Regions from separate parts of the Homo sapiens genome. Here region 1 is linked to region 2. The links are contacts of gene promoters, found by promoter capture Hi-C in blood cells and fetal thymus (Javierre and others, 2016). All regions are on one chromosome and are shown on one strand. The core of a region is centred on a gene start or on the middle of the fragment in contact, and the rest is flanking DNA. Distances in the headings are between cores, read along the strand shown.

The links. The method cuts DNA at HindIII sites, captures the fragments that hold promoters and counts their contacts. A CHiCAGO score of 5 or more calls a contact.
Region 1: a contact is called between a fragment that was not itself captured here and the fragment with the promoter of SMU1 in region 2, in 1 of 17 cell types (M2 macrophages). The highest score is 5.4, in M2 macrophages.

Annotation. Positions count from the first base shown.
Region 1 is chr9:32,562,544-32,566,791 of GRCh38, forward strand. The region is part of intron 2 of NDUFB6 (NADH:ubiquinone oxidoreductase subunit B6); the gene reads right to left. It also overlaps a transcript of SMIM27 not described here and the pseudogene DFFBP1. Among named protein-coding and RNA genes, the nearest start is that of NDUFB6, 8.5 kb to the right of the region's middle. The HindIII fragment of the contact is 1,096 bases long and covers 1,188-2,283 here.
Region 2 is chr9:33,073,873-33,077,983 of GRCh38, forward strand. It overlaps SMU1 (SMU1 DNA replication regulator and spliceosomal factor), which reads right to left and starts at 2,802. Exons shown (of 12, transcript NM_018225.3): 1 at 2,711-2,802. The coding sequence starts at 2,736. RefSeq lists enhancers at 2,664-2,813, 2,984-3,183. The HindIII fragment of the contact is 3,581 bases long and covers 1,759-4,111 here.

The DNA.
Region 1 (4,248 bases), core at 486-2,985, 510 kb before region 2:
TTCTGTCTTTATTCTGAAATAATTTTAAACTTACATAAAGCTGCAAGAATGAAAATAATTTTTTCCTTGAATCACTTTATAGTAAATTGCTGACTAGTTTATTACTCTAGTATACTTCCTACAAGCAAAGACAATATTCTTAAAATAATTACAATACAACTATCAAGATCAGGAAATTAACACTCATACATTACTATCTCTACCTGATCTAAAAAATCCATTCAAATCTTCTCAATTGTCTCAATAATTGTTTGGACTTATCAGAAAATCCCCTTACATGACATGTTCTCCATTGACTGTGCAGGCTCTTTAAAATTCTGACTGCCAACACCGTCACTGTTCTTACAGATAATGCAATTATGCCTATTAATGAAGAATTGCATTTAGTTGGCATATCTCTTTATTCTTCCTCAATCTGGAACAATCTTAAAGCTGTTCTTTAACATTCATGATCTTGACATTTCTGAAGGTATAATGCCAATAATGAGGGAGAACAGCCCCTCAGTTTGGGTTTATCTTCTGTTTCCTCATATGAATTTAATCAATAAATTACATTCAAGTTATGCACCTTTGGCAGGAATATCACAAAAGTAATGCTGTGTTCTTATTGCAGCCTATCAAGTAACATAATTTCAGTTTGCCCCATTATCAATAATGTTAATTTAGACCCCTTGACTAAGGTGGCGTCTGCCAGATTTCTCTACTACAAAGATACTCTTTCTCTCTTTGTAACAAATTAAATATTTTGAGGATAAGTATTTTAAAATTAGTATTAGCATCCTCTTTTTTTTTTAATTTTCTTTTTTTGATTCAGATGGGAGTCTCACTATGTCACCCAGGATGGCTGGAGTACAGTGGGCAGCACAATCATAGCTCATTGCAGGCTCCACATCCTGGGCTCAAGCGATCCTCCTGCTTCAGCCTCCTGAACAGGTGGGACTATTGGGCTTTTTTTTTTTTTGGAGGGATGGGGTCTCATTATGTTGCCCAGGTTGATCTCAAACTCTTGGCCTCAAGCAGTCCTCCCACCTCAGCCTCCCAAAGTGTTGGGATTACAGGTGTGAGCCACTGTGCCCAGACTAATGTTAGCATCCTTTGATGTTCCTTAGCTGAATTAAATATTACTATGATGATTCTCAAATGGTAATTTTTCTAATTCTATCATTCAGCAAATTATTGCATCAAAAAGCTTTCTTTTCTACCCATTTATTAATTCACTTATTTATATCAGTTTGCACTCATGGATTTTCATTTTATTCAGGTGACTATCATCTATTACTATCATTATTTACTTTGAAGTTCAAACTGCCCAGGCAGGAGTCCTTGCAAGCTGACTCTGTGTCCTTTGAAATATGTTCCCATCATTCTTTCAGCACTTCTTTACTTTCTGGCACAATAATATGTTCCAAGCTCATCTTATACTTTCTCTCCTCCCGCCCTAGAATTGGCCACTGCTCTGAGCTCTGGGTCCTTTCAGTGCATAACTGTATTTAGAAAATAAGACCTAGCTTCTAAGTGTGCTAATTACTAAGGAGTGGCAATGTTTCCAGGTCCTCTCAGTGGACATAGCTAGAGAATATGTACACACAAACACGCATGCACACATCCACATTTACATCTATATCTATTTCTAGGTCTATCAATACATTTTAAAAACCATGAGTTCACACCAGTACCTCCAATTCCATTCTACCACCACAAACTTTTCTTCCTTTTCACATAGGTAACTCCCTTTTCCGGCAGTGAGAATCCTGTGTCCCTTTATCATCAACATATGTACTCACAGGCATACCTTACTTTATTGCACTTTGCTTTACTGCACTTCACATATATTGTGTTTTCTTATAAATAGAAGGTTTTAGCAACCCCGAGACAAGCAACTCTATCAGTGCCATTTTTCTTTTTTCTGAAAAATCTTTATTGCTTCTGCTGATTACACAACAAATGTAAAAATTCAAATATTACACTTTTTTAAAAAAAAGTACATTATAACATGTCATTAAATAAATGCCCATTTCAAAAAAATTCAAGTATCATAAAATACATGATTTAGAAAATGAGTCCTCTGTAATCCAGTCCCACCCCCATGTCCCCCAGGATTACTGCTGTTCAGATCAGCGTTTCCTTCCAGATTGTCTCTGCGCACTCACCACCTGCACTGCTGACATGAGCTCCATATTATCTGAGATGATAGTAACTCTGATAAATGGAGCAGGAGCAGGGTTCAGCTGCCAGTGCACTGAACAGCTTCCAGTTTCTACACAGAAACACTTTCTTCATAAAAGCTTGAAACTACAACATCCTTTTGCACTATGTAAATGTATCAAGTTGAATCATGAAATTAACGATCGCTCACCATTTTTGGCCTAGAAAAACGGCAGTTTCATGTGGTTCGACATAATAGCTATGGCCCTATTCATAGACATTGGGAGGTTTCCTACTTTTTGCCATTATAAACAATTCAGCAGGCCAGGTGCGGTGGCTCACGCTTGTAATCCCAGCACTTTGGGTGGCCAAAGCAGGCAGATCACTTGAGGTCAGGAGTTCAAGACCAGCCTGGCCAACATGGCAAAACCTCATCTCTGCTAAAAATACAAAAATTAGTCAGCCATGGTGGCGGACACCTGTAATCCCAGCTACTTGGTAGGCTGAGGCAGGAGAATCACTTGAACCCAGGAGGCAGAGGTCGCAGTGAGCCGAGATCGCGCCACTGCACTCCAGCCAGGAGACACAGTGAGACCCTGTCTCAAAAAAAAAAAAGAAAAAAATTCAGCAGTGAATGTCCTTTTATGTTCTTTATGGAGTACAAACATCTTACCCCCAAAGCATGACACCTCTCTTTTGGGCATTTAGAACAGTCAAGAAGGATGGAGCTGCCCATTTGCCATGGAAATGGAGAGCCAGCAGACAGCTGATGCATAAACAACTTGTCCCTCAAACAAGAGTGGCTAACTTCAGCCATGACACCGTTTTAGTATGGTGACCACACCACATGAGCAAACCAAATACTGGTAAAACCAGAGAACAGAAGAATTCCTCAGCTCAGGACAATTCTTATCCCTACTGACGACTCACAAGACATCCAGTGAGTACCCCAAAGTTGTCCTCTGGAAGTTGGGCTGTCAGAAGGTACAAAAAATGATTCAGGCCAGGCACGGAGGCCCACGCCTGTAATCCCAGCACTTTGGTAGGCCGAGGCAGGTGGATCACCTGAGGTCAGGAGTTCGAGACCAGGCCGACCAACATGGCGAAACCCTGTCTCTACTAAAAATACAAAAATTAGCCAGGCATGGTGGCACATACCTGTAATCCTAGCTACTTGGGAGGTTGAGGCAGGAGAATCACTTGAACCCGGGAGGCGGAGGTTGCAGTGAGCCAGGATCACACTACTACACTCCAGCCTGGGCAACGAAAGTGAAACTCCACCTACAAAAAACAAACAAACAAACAATGATTCAGAAATGTACTGAAATCAGATTTGCCGGAAATATTTTTTAAGGTTTTTTCCAGGAGCTACTGGAGTGACCAAAAAAAAAAAAAGGCACCTGTTAAAATTATGCCCACGACAGGCCTCGAACAAAGACGAGAATATGGTGTGTATATGTCACTGGCGCTTTCACACAGGCCACTTCCTCTTCAACCTTGTCTGGGGTTTGTAGATTCTGTTCAGGTCATAGCTGGTTTTGTGGGTGGTTTTCTTATGGCAGACAACACTAATTTTAGGTTCTCTGAGGTAGAAAGCAGGCCATAAAAATATTCCCAGTCCACTTCTCTTCCATCTTGTTCTTTAACTGCTTCCACCAGTGTAGGAATGATGGTGCGTTTTTGTTTCCACTATGTGATCCAGGTTCCAGGTCCAGAAGAGGAGCCTGCTCTCCCTGTTACTGTAGGGGTTGATGGAGTATCTTGACAAGCAGCCGTCCATGTCGAAGGGACCCTGGCAGGAGAACTAGCCTTCCGGTGTGCAGAGACGGCTGCCACCCTTGGCTCCTCTGTTGTATAGCTGCCGTCGTACTGCACAGACTGGAGCTTCTGGCACATGGAGCGGAGGACCCGCAGGAATTCCTCCTGAGCCTCTGCACCCACCATGGAGGAGCAGGAGCTCACCTCTCTCAGGTAACTCCGGATCCGGCTTTCACAGCTGTATCTCAGATAGCCAGACTTATTCCAAAATCGGGACTCCAAGCCTTCAAACCACAGCGGGTCCTCAGCCCGGGTGTCGGCTGCGACGTTCTGGCTGACGTTGTA
Region 2 (4,111 bases), core at 1,552-4,051:
AAGCTCCTACTCAATCATCTTCCTTTCACTACTATTTCTTTATCATGTGAGTAAAATTTTCCAAAATCACAGAATCTAAATTATAAGGGGACCCCCCCTAACCATAGAGACAGAACTGGGGTTCAAGGAAAGGAAATCATTTGCCTAATGTCTCAGTCAGCTAGAAAGGGAGTTGGTGTCAAGGTGACTATCTTATTTCCTAATCCAGAGCCTAGTTTCCTATTCATTCTTGTAATTATATTGTAGCACACTTCACTGAAATACTTTAAATGACTAGACTAGTTATTTATACAAAATAATCTAAATGAGGTTGGGCATGCTGGCTCATGACTGTAATCTCAGTAATTTGGGAGGCTGAGGCAGGAGGATTGGCTGGAAACCAGGAGGTTTGAGACCAGATCAGGCAGCTGTGAGACCCCATCTCTACAAATTTTTTTTTAAATTAGCCAAACATGGTGGCATGTGCCTGTAGTCCCAGCTACTTGGGATGTTGATGTGGGAGGATCCCTTGAGCCCATGAGTTCAAGACCAGCATGGGCAACATAAGAAGACCCCTTCTCTACACACACACACACACAAAAAAAAAAATTAGCTAGGCATGATAGTGTGTGCTTGTGGTCCCAGCTACCTGGGAAGCTGGGGTGGGAGGATTGCTTGTATCCATAAGGTTGAGGCTGCAGTGAGCCGTGATCATGCCACTGCACTCTAGCCTGGGAAAGAGAGCAAGACCTTGTCTCAAAAAAATAAATAAAATAAAACCTATGAGGTAAGTTTACTTTTATCCCCAATTTACAGATGAGGATTTGATCAGATAATAGAGATAATAAGTGGAAAAATCAGGACTCAAACTGGCAGTGTGGCTCTAGAGCATGTATTCCTGAGGAGAAAGCAAACATCCTCTTTTTTTTTTTTTTTTTTGAGAAATGGTCACTTGCATCGCTCAGGCTGGACAGAATAGTGGCGTGATTGTGGCTGACTGCAGCCTGGGCCTCCTGGGATCAGGTGATCCTCTCACCTCAGCCTCCCGAGTAGCTGAGACCACAGGCATGCACCACCACACTGGCTAATTGTTGTATTTTTTGTAGAGACGTGGTTTTGCCATGTTGACCATGCTGGTCTCAAACTTCTGGGCTCAAGTGATCCATCCACCTCAGCTTCCCAAAGTGTTGAGATGACAGGTGTGAGCCACCGCACCTGGCCCCTCTTCTTAAAAACAACTATAGGCCGGCCGCGGTGGCTCACGCCTGTAATCTCACCACTTTGGAAGGCCGAGGCGGGCAGATCACAAGGTCAGGAGATCGAGACCATCCTGGCTAACACGGTGAAACCCCGTCTCTACTAAAAATACAAAAAAATTAGCCGGGCATGGTGGTGGGCGCCTGTAGTCCCAGCTACTCGGGAGGCTGAGGCAGGAGAATGGCGTGAACGTGGGAGGCGGTGCTTGCAGTGAGCGGAGATCGCGCCACTGCATTCCAGCCTGGGTGACAGAGTGAGACTCCGTCTCAAAAAAAAAAAAGGGAACTGATTGCTGCTACCTGCAGTAGTCTTTTTCTCTCATGGCCCCTTTATGAGGTATGCAGGTATCCAGACTTAGACCCCTGTTATTCTGCTATGATACTATCTTCCTTAGCACATGTCCGTTGACTTCCATTTTACACTCCCAAAATAAGTCATCTCTCTCCTCAAACAGCTCACATTTGACATAGCCAAAATCAAATTCCCTACCTTCAAACAGAAATGAATACATAAAGAGCTAGAAGCTTTGAAGATAGTCTGGGATTTGAATCAAAGTTATGTGACCTTGGACAAGTAGGTTAACATCATTTCAGTATTTGCTGAATGCATAAACCTCCCTTCCTCCTATGAAAAGTCTCCAAAAAAGGTCCTCTCCCTCCCTTACACTCAGACACAATTTTTATGTCTGTTAATTTAATTATTATTAAGTGTTGGCAAGGACAGGTGGAGGATGGAGTTCTGGAAAAGCACACTAAGGTCTTCTTTAGTCACTAATTCTCATCCCCTATTCCTTGAAAATTTTTCTTTCTAGCCCAGTCTCCAGTCTGTCTCTCCCCAGACAACCCAAAATTCCGTGCCAGATCGGGCCTGATAGTTGTTCATTCATTCCAAAAGCTAGTTGTTCATTCATTCCAAAAGCAATTAACTCTTCCTCTAAGGTATGCTAGACACTGAGACCACAAGGAAAAGGAGCTCCTAGGCACCGACAAAGGCTAGTTTGGGGTGAGGTTATCAAACAGTGACAATACTGAGTGATAAACGCTAGGCAGAGAAAAGCAAAGGGGCCGTATAAGCAGAGACAACGAATCACATTGCATAAGCTGGACAGGGAGAGAAGCAAGGCTTAAAGAGACCTATCCCCTTGCGCAGATAATTAGACTGGAGTCCAGAGTGGATCCTTAATTTGGTCAATCACAGCGCGCCAGCAGTCGGCCAAGGACAGAACTTAGGTCTGCAAGGTGTGTTTTCCCCACCCGTGCCACCTCCCTCGAGGTTTTGGGCTTCACGTCTGAGAGCTGCTACTTTCCTGTGGGCCCACCTCCGAGGTAGCGAGATCCAAGATGCTTCTTTGGGGGCAAGGAAATGGCCCTCCACTCCCTGGCCTCTCGGATGCCTTCTCCCGAGTACCCTCCGCCCCACACCCTTAACCTCCAGGCCCCCGGCAAGGCGCGAACATCCCCACCGCAGGACTCACTCCGAAGATTCGATTTCGATCGACATAGCCGTATCTCTCCGGGAGCAGGCCCCAGCTCTCCCTCAAGGCCAGTCGCGCAACACACCAACGACACCTCCGGCGGACACCTAACGTCACTTCCGCTTGGGTCGGCGTCTGGCTCCCGCTCTGGAGATAGAGTGAACGAAGAGTAGGGGCGAGGTTCGCGTAGGGGCGGAGCCCTCAGGGGCTGTCAGAGGGCGGAGTTTATGCCCCTGCCCCAGAGAAATACGCATCAGGAGGAAGACTGTTTAAAAGCAGGCCGGAGCCGGGTGCGGTGGCTCACGCTTGTAATCCCAACACTTTGGAAGGCCGAGGCGGGCGATCACCTGAGGTCGTGAGTTCGAGACCAGCCTGACCAACATGGAGAAACCCCCGTCTCTACTAAAAATACAAAATTAGCCGGGCGTAGTGGCGCATGCCTGTAATCCCTACTCGGGAGCCTGAGGCAGGAGAATCGCTTGAACCCAGGAGGCGGAGGTTGCGGTGAGCCGAGATCGCGCCATTGCACCCCAGCATGGAAAACAAGAGCGCAACTCCGTCTCAAAAAAAAAAAAAAAAAAAAAAGAAAGATAGAAAAGAAAAAGAAAAAAAGCACCGGGCGCCATACAGCTCACAAATGTACTGAAAAAGAAAAGCGCTGGGGCGGAGCGCGGTGGCTCGCGCCTGTACTCCCAGCGCGCGAGTTCGAGACCAGCCTGGGCAACATGGTGAAGCCCCGTCTCTACTAAAAATACAAAAAATTAGCCGGGCGTGGTGGCGGGGGCGCCTGTAATCTCAGCTACTCGGGAGTCTGTGGCAGGAGAATCGTTTCACCTCTGGAGGTGGATGCGGTGAGCCGAGATCACACCATTGCACTCCAGCCTGGGCAAGGAGAGCAAAATTCCGTCTCAAAAGAAGAAAAGAAAAGTAGTGGTGATAAGATTGTAGTAAGAAAAGCAAAGAAAAGAAAGAAGAAAAGAAAGAAAAGAAAAGAAAGAAAAGAAAGAGCACTGGTTTGGAAAGATTGCTTTTTTTTTGAGACGGAATCTCGCACTGTCGCCCGGGCTGAAGAGCACAATGGCGCGATCTCGGCTCACTGCAAACTCTGCCTCCCGGGTTCAGGAGATTCTCTTGCCTCAGCCTCCGGAGTAGCTGGGATTACAGGTTTCTTGCCATCACGCCAGGCTAATTTTTTGTATTTTTAGTAGAGATGGGATTTCACTATGTTGGTCAGGCTGTTCTCGAACTCCTGACCTCGTGATCCGCCCGCCTCGGTCTCCCAAAGTGCTGGGATTACAGGCGTGAGTCACTGCGCCCAGCCAATGTTGCTTTCGTTTGATGTAATTAGTTGATTAGATTTAAGATGAGGCTGAATATGCAATACCTGATGGGATATTAATA